Regions from separate parts of the Homo sapiens genome. Here all the other regions are linked to region 3. Evidence: promoter capture Hi-C in human tissues and cell types (Jung and others, 2019). All regions are on one chromosome and are shown on one strand. The core of a region is centred on a gene start or on the middle of the fragment in contact, and the rest is flanking DNA. Distances in the headings are between cores, read along the strand shown.

The links. Contacts are between HindIII fragments. The study calls those that stand out against the background at their distance.
Region 1: a contact is called between a fragment that was not itself captured here and the fragment with the promoter of PIEZO2 in region 3, in 6 of the 25 tissues and cell types used here (H1 embryonic stem cells, IMR-90 fibroblasts, dorsolateral prefrontal cortex and 3 more).
Region 2: a contact is called between a fragment that was not itself captured here and the fragment with the promoter of PIEZO2 in region 3, in 2 of the 25 tissues and cell types used here (aorta and thymus).
Region 4: a contact is called between a fragment that was not itself captured here and the fragment with the promoter of PIEZO2 in region 3, in 5 of the 25 tissues and cell types used here (H1 embryonic stem cells, IMR-90 fibroblasts, hippocampus and 2 more).
Region 5: a contact is called between a fragment that was not itself captured here and the fragment with the promoter of PIEZO2 in region 3, in 6 of the 25 tissues and cell types used here (H1 embryonic stem cells, lymphoblastoid cells, mesenchymal stem cells and 3 more).

Annotation. Positions count from the first base shown.
Region 1 is chr18:10,680,892-10,684,391 of GRCh38, forward strand. PIEZO2 (piezo type mechanosensitive ion channel component 2) reads right to left here. Exons shown (of 56, transcript NM_001378183.1): 50 at 1,213-1,401; 51 at 770-862. Among named protein-coding and RNA genes, the nearest start is that of LINC01887, 56 kb to the left of the region's middle. The HindIII fragment of the contact is 9,596 bases long and covers 1-3,500 here.
Region 2 is chr18:11,410,968-11,414,483 of GRCh38, forward strand. The region is part of intron 1 of LOC107985173 (a long non-coding RNA gene); the gene reads right to left. The region is part of intron 1 of LOC124904250 (a long non-coding RNA gene); the gene reads right to left. Among named protein-coding and RNA genes, the nearest start is that of LINC01928, 42 kb to the right of the region's middle. The HindIII fragment of the contact is 6,685 bases long and covers 1-3,516 here.
Region 3 is chr18:11,147,789-11,151,213 of GRCh38, forward strand. PIEZO2 (piezo type mechanosensitive ion channel component 2) reads right to left here and starts at 1,781. Exons shown (of 56, transcript NM_001378183.1): 1 at 737-1,781. The coding sequence starts at 800. LOC124904249 (a long non-coding RNA gene) reads right to left here and starts at 728. Exons shown (of 2, transcript XR_007066288.1): 1 at 1-728. RefSeq lists enhancers at 274-323, 352-1,190 and silencers at 884-953, 964-1,143, 1,164-1,443, 1,684-2,133. The HindIII fragment of the contact is 6,242 bases long and covers 1-3,425 here.
Region 4 is chr18:10,890,112-10,893,437 of GRCh38, forward strand. All of the region lies in intron 4 of PIEZO2 (piezo type mechanosensitive ion channel component 2), which reads right to left. Among named protein-coding and RNA genes, the nearest start is that of MIR6788, 130 kb to the left of the region's middle. The HindIII fragment of the contact is 3,372 bases long and covers 1-3,194 here.
Region 5 is chr18:10,734,041-10,737,569 of GRCh38, forward strand. PIEZO2 (piezo type mechanosensitive ion channel component 2) reads right to left here. Exons shown (of 56, transcript NM_001378183.1): 34 at 2,564-2,670; 35 at 1,192-1,290. Among named protein-coding and RNA genes, the nearest start is that of MIR6788, 24 kb to the right of the region's middle. The HindIII fragment of the contact is 3,671 bases long and covers 1-3,529 here.

The sequences.
Region 1 (3,500 bases), core at 521-3,020, 470 kb before region 3:
GATGAGGATTATGTTATATTATTAACAGTGTGGAATATAGACAAGAGAATAACATCAGCCACCCTTCTGCTACCAGAACATAATTGTTGTTTTAAGTTTTAGGGGATGTATTTCTTATTTTTTGTAATTTTAAAAATAATAGCCTTTTTAAAATTTATGTTTTAGTTTGAGAAATTGTCATGTCATTTATAGTCTCTGTAATGAATTTTTTAATTACAAAATAAGTTGCTTAGAAAATCTTTGGACAACATGGCACGTAAATAAAATGAAAAGTAGAAGCTCCTTCTCCTATTATGACCACTCTAGAGTATCTTGCCAATCAAATTCATGTAATACATCTGCCTTAATTTCCTCAACCAGCTCCTGTTTGCTGAACCGCAAATTGCCTCTAGTTCTGCTAATGCAGAGAATGCACTCATAAGCCAGTGCCTAGATAGAGCGTTCTCATATTTTGAATTACTTCTTAGGACAGATTCCCAGAGTAGGCCTACTAGTCAAGAGATGAATATATACCACAATTTAAAAAGTTAAACAATTTTTAAAATGGATCAATATTTAAATGTTTATTACCACTAATGTCCAACAACATAGACATAACTTCTTAGATTATCAAAGTAGCCAGTGGCCAGGAATGTGCTCTATGTAACTGATAAACCCTGAAAAGTCCTCCTTCCCACCACCTCAGGCCATGGCAAAGCATTAAATGACAATGAGTGAACTTCCCTAGATGAGAGGTCTTCACAGAAATCTACTATAGGGATTTACTTACGGTGTCCCTAGAAAAAGCTTGTATAAATTTGTTAAAGCTCTGCTGGTCCATAACTTTCAACTGGCTTTGTTGGGCACTCATTGTGAAAATAGGCTGGAAAACAAAGAGAACAGTGTTGTCAATATTCCCCAGCTCTTCTCTGCATCCTGAGTCAAAAGAAAAACATTTATGTAGGATATCAGCCCATTTATGTAGGCTATGTTTATCCCATGATACATGGCATCCGAGATCTCTTTTTGGAGTGATTATTCCCGTGCTCAAGACCAAAGGGAAACTAGTCTCTCAGTGTCTTCTGCACCTTATTCATACATCAAGTATTTGCTGAGCAGTCAAATGCCGACAGCAGGGTCGGCAGCCCATGACTAAACACCCTACAGACAGCTATCATAAAGGAATGTGGCGTGGGGCAAGGCTCTGGTAGGTGGGGTGTGCACAGAGATCACCTGATACCCTCCCAGGGTAATTGTGACGGAGACGTCCAGGGGCTGGTTGATGACCCCAGCCACAGATTTGATCAAAGACATGAAGAGAAGAGGAAACCAGACAATGCAGATGAGCAGGACGATGATCATTCCTCCCATGCCATACTTCACCACTTTCTTCTTCTTCTGGCCCCGTGGCTGAGGGTATCTCTGCAACAGAGAGTTCAGACAAGGCTCAGGCTCAGGCTCAGGTGCTTTCCCGCAGGCAGCGGGATTGGGGGAGAGCGAGTGCTCTTCCTGTGGTGCTGGGAACATGGATTTGGCCCTGAATCTTCTCTGTTCGCTCTGAAATGGGGATAGCAACCTTGTCCCAATCTCGAAATGAAGTTAGGTAGTGATGTGAAGCTGTCCTGAGGTCGCTCCAGTACCCCCTGGTGGATCCACAGGGGCCAACAGGACTTAAGCGGCCTTCTCCCTTCAAGACTGTGGGTGGGTTTTCCTGGTGATGAACTCCTGGACCAAGGGATCAAGTATCCGGCCGAATGAACCTTCTGGTTTTAAGGGATTATGTGAGAGAAAGATACTTTACTTTCAATTCCTGAATATTTAAAATCTGTGCCTTTCAGTTGACCCTTCCCTGCCCTTGGAGGGTGAAAAAACATGATTTTTAATTTAATTCATGACACGTGTTGTTAAAGACAATGTTGTTCGACACCTAAGGTAAGATTTGTATGATTAGAAGAGCCCCCTCTGGGCACTGGCTGTAGGGAGTGGGGAGAGGGCAGGTGCGTGTTGCAGGGGCTCACTCTCCTACAGGAGCCTGTGCACCAGTAAGGCTGGGAGCACTTCTGTTTGCTTTAATATAGATTCATGAAGGACCCACTAAGCCCCCTGCTTAAAGACTATGGACAAGTGGAAATTGGAGCTGTGCTGTCTGGCATTGAACCTGCTTCTGATCTACATGTGTGTTCTTTCTTCAGTGTTGCTGCTCCATGACCTCCATCCTTTCAGGGTTACCCCTCAGGCCAAGCTACATGCAGAACATGGGGTCAACCCCACTCCCCGACTTGGCAATGTGATTTATCTTCAGGAGGGATCCATTCATTTCAGCAGATTAAAGTAAGGAAAAATAATCTAACATTTACCCATAGGCACTAGCCATAGATTACACACCAGGAGAGAGACCTGGGAGTCAGTACAGGACATGACTACAGTGGCTTTTACAAGCCTGGACACTAAGTGCCAAAGATGGTGCCGGAAATATGAGAATGGAGGCTTGACTGGGTGGTGGGCCAGGGCCAGTGCGTAGTGCACTCTGCATTCAGTGTGCATAAGGCAATGCACCCTATGGATCTGCACTATGGAGACTGCATGAAGTTCAGATGGTAGCAGTGCATTTTGATATTTTTGCACTGGCATTTGATACTGTTGACTATTTTCAACAGCATCAAATATGGATAGCAGTAGCAGTGTATTTTGATTTTCTTCCCGATTTTCTATATTGAAAGGAAGACTAGGGTCCCATATTTTAAAATCTGAAATATATATTCACAAATATATATACACACATACATGCTTCCACACATAGATATGCAAACAAGTGTATAGATTTGCTCTTTCATTATTTTCTCAGTGAGGCAAATTTAGATCATAGGCCACTCCTGTCACTCCAACAGCACCCACACTGGATCATGAAAGTTTTGCAAGTTAAAGAAGATTAATGTATCTCTGCCAAGGGCGGTTTTAGTCTGTTCCACCTGAAGTGGGACCACATTGGTTCCTCTCCTGAAGGCCAGTCTCTTTGAGGTTCATCTCAAAAATTCCCAGAGGCTTCTCCCTCCTTCTGCTCAGCCCTCACACTGCCTTTCCAGGGGACAACAGGGGAAAGGCCTCTTAATCCATCTCAAATTACGCAGCCAATTTTCCCCTCCTCTCGAAATTTTCTCCCTTCCTTCCTTCCTCCTACCCTCCCTCCCTCCCTTCCTTCCTTCCTTTTTCCTTCCTTCCTTCCTTCTTTCTCTCTCTCTTTCTTTCTTTCTTTCTCTCTCTCTCTTTCTTTCTCTGTCTTTCCTCTTTTTTTTTTTTTTTTTTTTTTTTTTTTGAGACGGAGTCTTGCTCTGTCGCCCAGGCTGGAGTGCAGTGGCGCGATCTTGGCTCACTGCAAGCTCCACCTCCTGGGTTCACGCCATTCTCCTGCCTCAGCCTCCCAAGTAGCTGGGACTACAGGTGCCCGCCACCATGCCTGGCTAATTTTTTGTATTTTTAGTAGAGACAGGGTTTCACCATGTTAGCCAGGGTGGTCTCAATCT
Region 2 (3,516 bases), core at 737-3,236, 260 kb after region 3:
TTGCAGGCACTGGGGTAAGAATATAATACACACTCTACAGAGACAAGAAGTTTGTGCCACTAAGTTTTTGGCCCCAAACCTCCCAGTATCTCATTTTTTTTCAGCTAATAACAGAACTGTAATTTTAAAAAGTATAAATATCTTTAAAGTGACCTCATTTTGTAACATTCATGTCATAGTAATTCTTGAGACCCAGAAGTTTCATAACTTTCCTAAGAATTCCAGACCATATGTTATACATTTCTCTCTGCAGTTTTAAATTCTGGATATACATCTGGCCCTAATCTGAAAACATCATGTAATCATTCTTCAGAGCAATAAATTCTATGACAAACTAAAGAATGCAAAACCATAATCTAACATTAAAGCATACAGTTTTCATTTCTAAATAATTTAGCTACTTATCCTCAGAAATCAGTCATGCAACCACTACATCCAGCTCCATGTTTTCTGAACAAAGAGATTCAGAAATACCAGTCCTTCTTATACTTTTCTATGGTTTATGAAAAGGAAATGGGAAATGTTTATATTGGGCAGCTTCTATGATCACTAAAGAGCAACATCATGAGTGTCAGAGAAAGACAGAGACAGAGAGGTGAATATGTTGGAAAGGCTTGGAACAAATCAGAAAGACGATCTCTGGAGCTGGATGGCTCTGCAGCTGAAGCTTTATACTCTTTGCAAATTTATTTTTTACTATTAAAGGAGAAATTTCCCCCCAATAAATTGCCCAATTCCTTTTGTGATCACTTATGCCATCTTTTGTTTTTAAGAAAATGAAAGCAATGTGCATAATTTAAAAATAAGTAATAAACAAGAGAGTAAAATCTCTAGTGCTCTTTGTTTTCTTTAAAATAGACCACATTTTGCATGACATAAACACACCATCAACCAACCTCTTTACTTTTATGTACATGGGGTCTTTTCTTTGTTCCTAAATTGATTGTTTATTGCTAAAAGTGACAAAGATGGAATTTGAGGATGTGCTTTCCCTTTCTATAAAGAGCATAGATTATGATGAGTGGAAAGAAAATAATTTGTAAATCTGACATCCATAACACTGCAAATTTTAGACAAATATCTGAAATATTCAAATACACAGAAACAAACAGTTGTTGTTGTTGGTGTTTTAAGAAGAACCCCATGAGAACTGCTGCTAGGCTTTCTGTATCTTGACCTTAAGTGTTCTTTCAAGGGCTTTGTTGGGGAGATATTCTGATATGTCACATTTAGAAGTAAGCCTACGTAGAATTGACTTGATGAATCATTGAGGGTAGCTCTCAACCTGAGAGCTCCCTCACCCTTTCCCATCACCCTTTCCAACCTGACTGTTTGCAATTAACGTCTCTTTCCCCAGGTAACTACACATGGTGATTTAGACTACCTGGCCAGCCCATAGAAACCCATTTTACCCAAACTGCCGCTGACATGGTCCTGACCAAGAGCAATGGCTCCTGTAGCTGTGGCTTCAGCAATGTGGGAGCAGCCAGAAAAGCCCACTTGTGCTGTCCAATGACTCATAAATCAAGGATTCATGTACCAGAGACCTGCATGTCCAAGCTGTCTCTTTGTTGACATGCATATTTAGCTGCTGAAAACCCTAAAGTTTTCATAAACACCAAGTTCTCTCAGAACAAGAAGGGTAAAAAAAAAGTCTCAAGGAGAACTAGTATTTTTCTATTATTAGAAATTTTAAAAAAAGAAAAATTGGTTTCAATTCATCATATTCTTAATCACATTATTTAAAAATAAAAGAGCTGTGTTCTGAAAATAATAACCATTAAATAAGTTTGTCAGCTAAATTGTATCTGAACGATAATTGGTCTTTCTAGACCACAGTAACTCAGAGATCTGTGCGTAAACAAAGCTTCCTGAAGTGACAGGAGTATTTGCTGATACCCAACTACCCAGCATGGAAACGTTCTAAAGGCAAATGCGTGCCATGGAAATAGCTGCAAATTGGCACGGGACCTCTCTTGTCAGCCTGCCTGTGCTGTGGTTTTATGATTACTATTGCCTGTATCATCAATTTGTATTTACTATGTTCCACTCTTAAGTGAAAACACAGTTTACTGCATAAACCACAAAAGCCTCTTGTTATTCTTCTCAGTTGGGCATTAATAATGCATCCTGATGTCCTGCTCATAAATGCAAGTGCATTTACAAACTGCACATTAACCACTGAGGCCCCCCCCAGAGCCCGAGGCCCTCTCACAGGCATCAGAGGGAAGAGAGAGGGAGCATCCCCCAGGCCTCAGCCCAGCACCTGCTGCAAGGCCTGCCGACGGCCCAGCCCTTCCTGATTCCTCCATCTGCCTGTGGAGACTTTTCAACTTTGGATCTAATCAGTTTTCCTCTCTCAAGCAAGGAGTAATTGTTTTAATAATTATTTTCAGAATTTGATTGATTGTATTTCTGCCATGGAAAGCCAAGGCCAAGTAAAACACCCCAGGCACATAAAACTTTTTCCTTGGAGCATCCTTTTCACTATTTCAAGACAATCATAATAATTGTCCATGCCCTTTCCCCACAAATAACTGATTCAAAATAATATTCTTTTGCCAGGCTCAACTTAGGTGATTTGAGGAAAAGCGAAGCAGCACCCTCCAGGAGACCCACCCCTGTCTCCCTGTGAGTGCAGTGGATCTGCAAGACCCAAGCTGGACGCTAAGCCACCCAGCACCTCCTGGTGGCATTCCTGCCTGTTTCCACCCTGCCATGCTGTGGCCCTTTGTTCATGAGTGTTACCCTTCCTTCCTCCCTTCCCTTCTCTTCTCCTTCCTCCCTTCCCTTCCCCTTCCTTCCCTTCCTTTCCTGCTTTCCTTCTCTCTCTCTCTCTCCCTCCCTCCCTCTCAGCCTCCCTCCTTCCTTCCCTCCTGTGTCCTGTTGGAATCGAGGGCTTTGGTGTCACGTAGGCTTGGGTTTGAGGCCAGCTCTCTCATTTGCAAGTTACGTGACTGACCCCCCAACAAGTTTATCCAGACTTCCAGCAAGCCTGAAGAAATACCTCCTTTGCAAAATTTCTGTGAAAATTAAATAAAATTGCATGTGTGAAAGTACCTAGCACAGCCTGGCACATAAACACAATCCTTTCCTCCAGCTCCTGCTCACCTCTCTCTCTTCCTGGGTCTAGTTCGCCACTATTCGACTACGCCATCTGACTTGATCTGAGAAGTTTGATGCCAGGTCTCAGTAATATTTAACCATGCAGTGAATTACTATAATTTTATGTTGTTTCACCACCCATTTCTAGGCCTGCCGTAAGTTGTTTGAAATCCAGTCATATCCAGTTATTATATCTTTAGCTTCTTTAAAACTTCCCCTTCCCATGCAATGCAGACAGCTGGTTCCTCATCTCACCAACCCCAGCATCTCTCACAGCCACTGACCACGATGAAACCTGACTAAGCCCAGAGTCAGGTAAGAAAGGTCCCCATCATGTGTGTTTTGTTTAAGCCAGCCAACCACCGCTCCCCAAGGGAAGCCCTGATGGATAACGCCCACCAGCCTCACTAA
Region 3 (3,425 bases), core at 531-3,030:
TTGTCTGGGCGTCGAGGAGGCTCCCTTGCGGTCCTCCCTGGGCCCTTGCCAGTCCCAAGGAGTTCCAACCCTGCTTTCTAACCCTTTAAAATCTGGAGAGGGCGGCCGCTGGGAGGCGGGACTAGGTGTTGGGGGTCTATAGCCTTAGCATCCAGTACTTTTGTAGTAGGGGCTTTTGTGGAGGTTTTAAAAAATAAGTAAGAAACGTCAAGGCACTGTCTCCCTGTACCTCGTCCCTCTTTTTCTTTTTTGAATGACCGGAGTCCTTCACTTCTTCCTTCACGGTTGCTGGGATTTGGGGTCTGGGAGAGATGGCCTCTGGGCCGTCTGGAGGCACAGCATGCTGTGCTTGCAGGGTCACTGGGGCGAGGGGCTCAGGTAGGAGCCTGACTGTACCTACGATGGGGACGCATCCGCCTTCCAGCCACAGCAATGGCCATCCTTAGTACACAAGTCAGTACTCCACGAAAGAAAATCCACGTGTAACTAAATTCAACATAAACAGTTTCCAGCACATGCCCGTCCCGAGCATCCTGTTAAGAGATACCCCGATCGCGCGCCCCAGAGTGGGAAGTGAGAGAGCCAGGCTGTGCACCAGGGACAGCGCGCGTCTGACGCCGCTGGCCTCCCGAATCGAACCCCAGAGCACCAGAGCCCTTCACTTTGTTAAGAAGTCCCCCACCCAGGCGCCCCCCTCGTCCTCCTCAAGTGCCCTCGGAAAGCGGACCAGACTCACCTACTGCCAGGCAGATGGGCAGCAGCAGCCTGAAGATGAGCCCGCACACCACTTCTGAGGCCATCGCGTCGGTCCGGCGAGTCGGAGCAGAGGGGCGAGGCTCGAGGGTCCCTAGGGGTGGTGGGACGCAAGGCCCATGCCCGTCTATGGCCTCTCGCCGCCGGCAGCTCGCAGCCACCCGAGCATCGCCTCGGCGCGGGCCGCGACGCTCTCCGCCCCGAGGGCACGCTCCCGGGGCTCTTGGCCGCCCCTCGCCCACCGGGCTCTGGGTAGCCCCTCACCAGGCTCTTGGCGGCCACCTAGCCCGGCGCCCGGCCCCCTGCGGCCGGCCCATTTAGTGTGAATCCTGGATCCGGCAGCGGCGGCGGCTTCTTCAGGGGTAGCTGATGCCGGGGCCTTGGAGAGGGACGCTTTGGGAGGGTCCTGGGAGGCGGCGCGGCGAGCAAAGGGGGCAAGAAGGGCGTGCTGTGCTCCCGCCTGGCTCCCGGGGCGTCGTTTGGGGGCGGCCGGGGAGTTTTCTACTTGGAAGCCCCTCTGAAGCCACCGCGTCTCCTTTGCCCGGCCTCGTCTCCGCTGCCCACGCAGGCTGCCGCGCTCTGGCCTCGGCCCCGGCTCTCGGAGCTGCCCGGCGGGCTCCGGGTCTCGCCCTCCAGCCCCCAGGCGGCCCGCGGCGGATCCCCGAGAGGCAGCGCAGCTCAGCCCCTGCGCCCCCCAGCTTCGGGCCGGAGAGACCGGGGTGGGAGCTGCCAGGCGCGCAGAACCATCCCCGCCACCACGGGGCTCGCCTTGTGGGTCCGGTGCGCGGGCGGCGCTGCGAGTCCCTCCCTCACTCGAAGGAACGGCGCGAGCGTGGGGAGAAATGGAGACCAGAGCGCATATCGGGTGAGTGGGTCTCCCACTCCCTCCTCCACCGCCTCAATTTAAAACTCAAGAGAAAAACCAGCGCCGTCCCGTCGCCCAGCGCGACCACCGCCTGCCGCCTTGCAGCCTCGCCCTCGCGGCGCAGCCGGGGCTCCCCGGCGGCGCGCGCTTCTCCACCTTCAATGAAACTTTCGAAGCCCTCACTCGGGGACGGGCGTGTCCCCCGGCCAATGGGATGGCGGCTCCGGGGCCTGCGCGCGCGGAGCCCGCCCCTGAGCGGCTGGGGAAGTGAGAGCCTTGCACCGGCGCGGAGGGCAAGCCCCCACCCGCGGCTCCCGCGCCTGGGAGAGACCCGGCCTGGCCTGCCAGTGGGCTGCGCGCCTTGGCTCGCCCTCCGCGGGCACTCCTGCCCCACTGGCTCCCGCAGCCCCGCGGCTCTGCGTGGTTCTGTCATTCCGGTGGTGCACCCTGGCATCCAGTCCACCCGGCCGGGCCCTGAGCTTGCCCAAACCCAGGGAACCGTTTAAGGTCCGAGGGAAACGCACAGGCCCGGCAGGAGAGAAGCCAGGGGCTTGGAGAGTCCTGTGCGACCCCGACTTCTGCTGGGTCCACAGGTGCACACTGGCATTAAGAAGAATAGAGCTGAATTCATCTACACCGTTGACCCTGCCCATATTTCACATAGCAAGAACTTGCCATTCTGAATAGACTCTGGGAAATCCCGGGTCTTCCCCAACAGATAATGCACCCACTTTGTGCATTTGGGGGAACTCTCCGTTTTCACCTCAGTTTTGCTCCTTGCTTGTCGTGGCTCTGGGGAAAGAGAGCGTTGGCACTGAGAATATTCTCCCTTTCTCCTAGTGCACTGCTTTTTGCCTGTTCTAGGCAAGATCTAGAGAAATCTGGCTCTAGCTGGGAGACTGCAGTGTGCCTGGGTCTTTTATTTAACTGTTATCCGAGAGTGGAGGAGATTTGCTAGAGCACAGTAGGGGTCTTTCCGGACATGGAGGAAGAGGCTGTTAGCATCTGTAGAGAGGACTGTTCAGGACTGGCATTCCATCAGGAGGACACACTGGGAAGGACCTGGCTTCCCTTCCGCACCTACATTCCTGGCTTGCATTAGTTGGAGGGGATAGAGCAGTGAGCTGATGAAAAACAGGCAAACCCCCGTCTTTTTAGCCATTTGAAACGCTTTTGTGGACATCCCTTTTTTGAGACAGGGTAAGCTTGTGGTTTGAGCTCAGGTGCCTTCACGAATTCTCTGAGAATTACAGAAAAACTATGAACCATTGCTTTTTGAATGAAGACTCAAGACAGTTGGCATATGGTGAAGACACCCTGAAACTTAAACCACCCATGTGCTCTGCCATCCTCAAGAAGCTTAGATAGCACCTAAACCCGGGCGTAGTCATGAGCTCAACAGCAGACCTACAGGAGACGATAGAACTTAAATTAGCATCCAGTCACCAAGAAATGCTATCAAGAAATGGTTTGTGTAGCCTGTTTGTAGAAGCCTGATATAAATCTACCACTAATTTTGATGTTCATAAGTCTGCCTTCACATCCATGCCCTCCCCACCTCACCCCATGTACGACTCATTCTTGGGAGCTAATAGGTGAAGGACTCCTGAATTTTAAATAATACTGTGTCATCACATGAATTCTGTATTCTCTGAATACTTTCTTATGTTCTTGATAGGCTTCCCATACTAACAACTGTCTAGACTTTTTCACAATAATTCTCTTTCAAAATAACATAAGCTGGGAGGCACAAGATTCCCAGCAGGTGGGTGGTCTTACCAAATAAACTTCGAGCTTTCTCTGCCAC
Region 4 (3,326 bases), core at 259-2,758, 260 kb before region 3:
AAGCTCTTGTGAAGTACTGCAAAATGGAAAGCCAGTAAAATCTTGTGTGTTTAAACTACAGCCCATACAGGGGAAGCCAGTGATTTACTCCTATTTAGTGAGGACACAGTCTCAGGGTCTCCATTTGCTTGAACTAAAGTGTGAGGATTATGAATGTAATCCACAGTACACATTTCTAAGGCAGAGCAGGCCTCATTTGTCAATGTGGCTGAGTCTGCAAGTGCCATGAAATATAGCATTTGCCATTTTTTTCAGGGAACAGCTTAGAGTAAGCAGCTATAACAAGAATGTATTAGTCTGTTCTCACGCTGCTAATAAAGACATACCCAATACTGGGTTTATAAAGGAAAGAGGTTTAATTTACTTACAGTTCAGCATGGCTGGGGAGGCCTCAGGAAACTTAAAATCATGGCAGAAGAAGAAGCAAACACATCCTTCTTCACATGGAGGCAGCAAGAGACGTGCAGTGTGAAGTGGGGGAAAATCCCCTTAGAAAACCATCAGATCTCATGAGAACTCACTCGTTATCACGAGAACAGCATGGAGGTAACTGCCCCAATGATTCAATTACCTCCCACCAGGTTCTTCCCATGACACATGGGGATTATGGGAACTACGGCTCAAGATGAGATCTGGGTGGTGACACAGCCAAATCATATCAAGGAATAAACTTCTAATTCGCTTCTGAGCTTACCATCCCTCCTGCTGAGCACTGGTGTTTAGCCTGGTGTTTTTCCAAATGCAGGTCATGAATAATTAGCATATTATAAAATAAACTTAGTGGGAATCAACCAGTACTTTATTTTTTCTGTAATATAATAGAACAAAGGAAATAAAAAATATATCGAATCTCCTTGCAAGTGGTAAGAGTAACTTTTTTTTTCCTTTGAAAGTTTGAAATCACGTGTTGTACCAGATCAAAACAGAAAGTGCATTGCTGGCTGGAAGCGGTGGCTCACGCCTATAATCCCAATACTTTGGGAGGCCGAGGCAGGTGGATTACTTAAGGCCAGGAGTTCGAGAGCAACATGGTGAAACCCTGTCTCTATTAAAAATACAAAAATTAGCTGGGTGTGGTGGTGCGCACCTGTAATCCCAGCTACTTGGGAGACTGAGGCAGGAGAATCACTTGAACCCGGGAGGCAGAGGTTGCAGTGAGCGAGATTGCGCTACTGCACTCCAGCCTGGGAGACAGACTGAGACTCTGTTAAAAAAAAATAAAAGAAAGTGCATTGCTTCCTGCGGTCACAGTAAAAAGTTTGACTACCATCATCAAACAAGTAAGGCAGTTGTGTAGGGAACAGATGAAGACAGTACAAATCCTCTTTCCAAATCTCTTGGAGCCAAATGTACTTCAAAATTCATCCTTTTCCAGAATGCAGAAAGACACATGTTACATACATGATGTACCGCTTGATGCAGACACTAGGCATTGGCCCTGTTCAAACACACACATGAGGACAATTCGCACTCACAGGAATGGTCTCCCTTCAGCTACCAGGTGACTTCAGGTCAGGTTTTGCCATCACAAAACTAGGCTAAAATGTTTTCAGAGCATTGCAATTTTGAGACTGCAGGTGAGGGATCTCAAAGGCTGTACTCAAATCTATTATAACAAGCTAAAAGTAATTAGCTATAAAAAATTCCAAATTTTTCAGAAATAAAATAGTAATCAAATGAGTGATAAATAGCTCTGAGTTTTTAACTGTCAAAAGGTAAAGCTTCTGTTAAGCAAATAAAATAAATGAAAATATAAATTTGTAAAGCACATAAAATAGAGTGGTAGACATACTACAAATAGAATCACCCAAGAATATCTTTAAATATGTTTCTTCATGCAGTTCAAGTGTGCTTTAATTTTCAGAAATGGGTCCGGTAAACATTTAGGGTAATGCAGGATTGATAGGCAGTCAGACTGAAGATAGAACAGCCAATTAAGAGACTCCTAGAGTGAAAGAAAAATATGATGTCCACACAACCACCTGCCTGCAAACATTCATAGCAGCTCTACTCATAATTGCCCAAAACTGAAAACAACCCAATTATCGACCAACCAATCAGCAGATAACTGATTATATAATGTCTATATAATGGAATACCATTAGCAATAAAAGGGAATTATCACAATGTACCCCATAAATATGTACAATTATTATGTATTATTTATAAATAAAAATTAATTAATTAAACAGGAATCAAGTATGGATACTTGTGACTCTATGGATAAATCTAAAAGGTTTATTCCATGTGAAAAAAGCCAGACACAAAAGGCCATAGACTCCATGATTCCATTCACATGACAATCCAGAAAAGGTAAAGCCAGAGAAAGAAAAATCAGATCAGTGGTTGCCACGGGCTGGGGGAAGAGGTGGGAGGTTGACTGCCGAGGGCAGGAGACTCTTTTTGGGGATAATGAAGATAACACACATCCTGACTATGGTGGTGGTTAAATGATTGTGTATATTTTCAAATTCATAGAACTACTCACCTAAAATGGGTAGAATTTTAGGAATGTAAATTGCACCTCAATGAACCAGAGAGAGGGAGAGAGAAAGATGGGGAGAGGGGCGGGGGTGAGGGAAGCACAGAAGCAATTTAGCATGAAACAATAAAGACCGCAAGTGTGGTGAGTAGGAATAGAGAGGAAAAGCAAAATCTGAGAAAACATAAAAATGTAAATGAAGAAATCACCACCAAAATCTAACAAGTACTTCATACAAATGAAATATTTTAAACAAGCTACATCTGTAAATATGTAGCTGTTGAAAATAACAGAAATTGTACTAAATGGTAGGCATTGTTTTCTGACATCTCAACATTCAGAAAGAAATATGGTCAGTAAAGGTCCTTGAGCCCTTTTCTGCAGTATTTCAACAGAGCTGCTTCAGTGGTTTCTCCCTGGGGATTTCCCTAATAGAAAATTTATGGCCAGGATAAAATTAACAATGCTGGATTCAGAGGAAACTGTTTCTACTGCGAATCCCTTTGCTTAAAATTCTGGGAAATTATGTTTTAGTAGTTCAAGACCTATTACAAAATCACTGATTTATTGAATTATGGCTAGGTTAATGAGATATTCTCCTAAACAAAGATTTGTTATTTTTATAAATTAAAAAAATAATAAAATAAACAGTCCCAGAGTGAGCTGTGGCCACTGAGATTTGTATGCCTACACATTTGAACAGTGTGCATTTCTATCTTATTTGCAAGATGCCAGCCTTCTGCTCCAGCCAGGTCAGATTCCTCAGCGATGTGCAGGCAGGTCACACCCACCTCAACCTCACTGCTGTCCCTGTCCTTTGTAGACTCTTCCCTTCCCTGTGCAA
Region 5 (3,529 bases), core at 506-3,005, 410 kb before region 3:
AAATTGGTGAAGTTTCATCATCTGTCCTTTGATTCAGGTGTGGTCTAGCACCTTCTTTATGTTGTCTGTAAGATAATTTTTTTGAAAAGAAACTAAGATGGAGGATAATTACATTGTTATATTTCATTTAAATAAATTCTAAAATATGAATTGAGAAAGTCATATGGTAGTCATAGAAAATAAAAGGAAAAGAATTTGGGAGAAGCAGAAATGGTAAATACTACACTAAAAAACAGGATCCTGGCATTTTAAAAGCAGAAGGAACCTGGAGGTGTGGATGGTGCTACTCAAGGCCCAGCCACGGTTGTGCTTCACATGAGAGTTTGAGGGAAATGCACACTGTGAGGTCCCATAGGACCTGCTGAATCAGAACCTGCATTTAAATAAGACCCCAGGGTAAAATGTGAGAAGCACTGGTCTATGTCACTATCGAACTACTCGCTTAACAGGTGAGGGACATACAGAGCAAAGCATTTTAGTGGCTGCCCCTGACTGAGTTCAGGAGAAAGGGCTTTCTATAAAATGTAAGAATAGGAATTCATTATTAATGTTTTTCCGTAACGAAGCGACTACAGCATAGGTAGCTGAATAACTTCAACTGTGCATTAGGTTAATCAACAAATAATTTTTGACAGTGTACTCAAAAGCCCTAGCATGGATCTGTGGGATTGAGGAGCCCGCAGACTGCACTGGGTGGATCAGCCCAGGAAGAAGCTGGCTGTACCGAGTGCAGAAACTGGAAGACGGAGACTGAAAGGGACCCGAATGAGAGACGGAGTAAAAGACATCTTTTATTAGCTTATCCAGAATTTTACCAGCTTTCTGAGAAAAATTATCACCCTTTTTACTCATCAGAACTGATTCATGCAACCAGATGTGACCCTTTTAAAATGAGATGTGACTTAGGCAACACCATGAGAAGGACAGCAAGTATATCTGTATCTGCATTTTCTCTTTCTATTTTTCGATAGTTACTGGTGTCCACTTAAGAGCAAGAGTCAAATAATAAGAACTTCGGCTTCTAAGAACTTGTTTTGGAAAACTTTTTCTAATATTTTACGTTCCTGTAATTCCTTCATGGTACCATCTATAGAACCGAGAAAATGCAGAGATAGGGCAATGAAGGTATATTTCTCTACATTTCTACAGAGCAGAGAGTCACACACTACACATCAGTAAAACATCAAATACCTTTGCAGCTCTGATTAAATACTGAAGAATAGTTTTGGGAAGTTTAATGACAGACTTTGGCAAGGCTAAAATGGCTGATGCAAACTTCCCAATAGCTCTCTACAAAGAAGGACAAAGCAAGAGTAATTAGTAGAAAAAACCAAAAACTAGTAATTTAATATATGATGTCAGCATGAATTTGTCTCTACAGTTACACCAACTAGGTTAAAAGATGCCAGTCACTGAAGCTAGAATAAAATGTGCTCTGCTTGTAAGTTAGGAATAAAGAAAATAGTCAATCATTGCATGTAATCCATCCAACATAGTGAAGATGTTCATGTTCTCTCCTTGGCTGCACGATGAGTGGTGGTTAGAAGAAAACTCTTTCGAATAAAAATAAATGAGTTAAGTCATTAGTATTTGATAAGCCAGCTGCAAACATGCACAAAAACCCGGTCATGAAGAAACAGACACAAGAAGCAATGGGGGAAGAAAGAAAGCATCAGACCAAGGTGTCTCTATGGAGAATTCAGTTTTTCTATGTCACTGGGAAACAAGCATGGATGGGCCCCACCCACTTGAGAAGTCCTGGCCAAAAAACTGACGAAGGCCTTATCACGGGCATATCATGTGGCTTGATGGACATCACTCTATGTGCCTCGTAGGAAAACAAATGGGAAATAACAGCCCTAGTGTGTAGTTAATTGATAAAAGAAACACAGACCAATTTTCATCCCATACATGACTCTAATGACAAAGCCTCATCTTTAACAAGCATTGATTCACATTCACTCAATATGCTACATTAGGCTGGTGAGCTATAGCTGAGAATGGGACAGCAGGTTCTAAAACAGAAAGGTAGCTAAGCTGAAAAAACCAGAACTGTGCCACATATTTTTATTACTAGTTCAATATATTCTCAAATCTTTAGCAATACATATGAAACGGTTTTCAAACTCTGAAGCAACATTTAAATGATCATTTGCTCCACAACAAAGCAAGGATTTTGTTTTCATTATCGCCTTACATTGAATGTAAGTCCATTCAAGCAATCCAATGCAATGCCAGAGAAGTCTTTTTCACTTTGCTTGCAAGAAAAACATTGAGTTCACCCAACGAAGCTTTATTTTTTGTTTATAGTATCAGGAACTGTTTCAGTGCCAGTGAATGAAAACCTGGGCTGTACATGGTTCTTGCTTGATACTAATTACGGTGTTGCTGGGAGCAGGCATCATTACAATTTAATTAGAAATAAAGAATTGCAGATGTAAATCAGAAGCTTCGGGGAGCTATGACATATGAATATTACAGGAGGTGTCTAGGCCTGCAATGAAGGTCCGTCAATAAGAAAAGCTCTTCCAACTAGCAAAGAAATGATTTTCCCCATAATTACCTGGAATGCTGACCTTCGTGGAGGTTCTTCATCTTCCTTCTTTAATTCTTCCTCTTCCTCCTCTTCACTATCCGTTTCAAACAAATAATAATCTCCACTCCTGACCACTAAGCAAAACAAAATATTCACTCATTTCTTGAAAGACATATAAGGAAATTGGGGGCTTATTAATGAAATGTCCCCTAAAGATACACAAATTGTCCATAAGAGAACCACAACGAAAGATGTTGGCAGAGAGGAAAACACACAAGATGAAGAGAACTCATCTTCGGCTAATGCTACGCGGTGTTGGCATATTGGGTCTACAGAGTATGAGGCCTTGTCTTTGCCATGTAAGAGAACTGGCCACTACAGGGTGGATCTGGTATGTTCTCCCTTCTTCATTGTAAAATTTACATAGATGAAGCAGATCAACTCTGCAGCAGCCAGTTTTGTTATCTAGATGACCAAAATAACTGAACACTATCATTTCAAAATTCAGCAATTTTGGTCTTCAGACAAGGCCAAAGTGAGGTGGAGGATTAGGCTTTGTCTGAATGGGCCCAAACCGTTGCAGATAAGCCAATCAGGACGATTCAGGACCAAGGTCAGTGTCACCAATCTCCTCCTTCACTTTACACTGTGCAGACCTGACTTCTCCACATGTAACACAAGGGACAAAACATACATGGCAAGACATTTGAAAAAAAAAAAACAAAAAAACACGCACACACTGCCATGAGGATGAAATGGGCAGGTAACATTGAAAACAACACAACACAACAACAACAATGACAGTAACAACAAAAACACCACCAACAACAGCGCTCTGGCTGCTTCCACGTGTCGTAGCCCTAAGACAGACTGAGAATGGCAGACAGGGTCCATAGGGTTTACAACTGCTAGGCTTCTGGTCAACAAGGAACTCCCCAGCAGCTTTCTGAAATTTGAGGAGCACTCTACTGACCACAAGACACAAAGCACAAA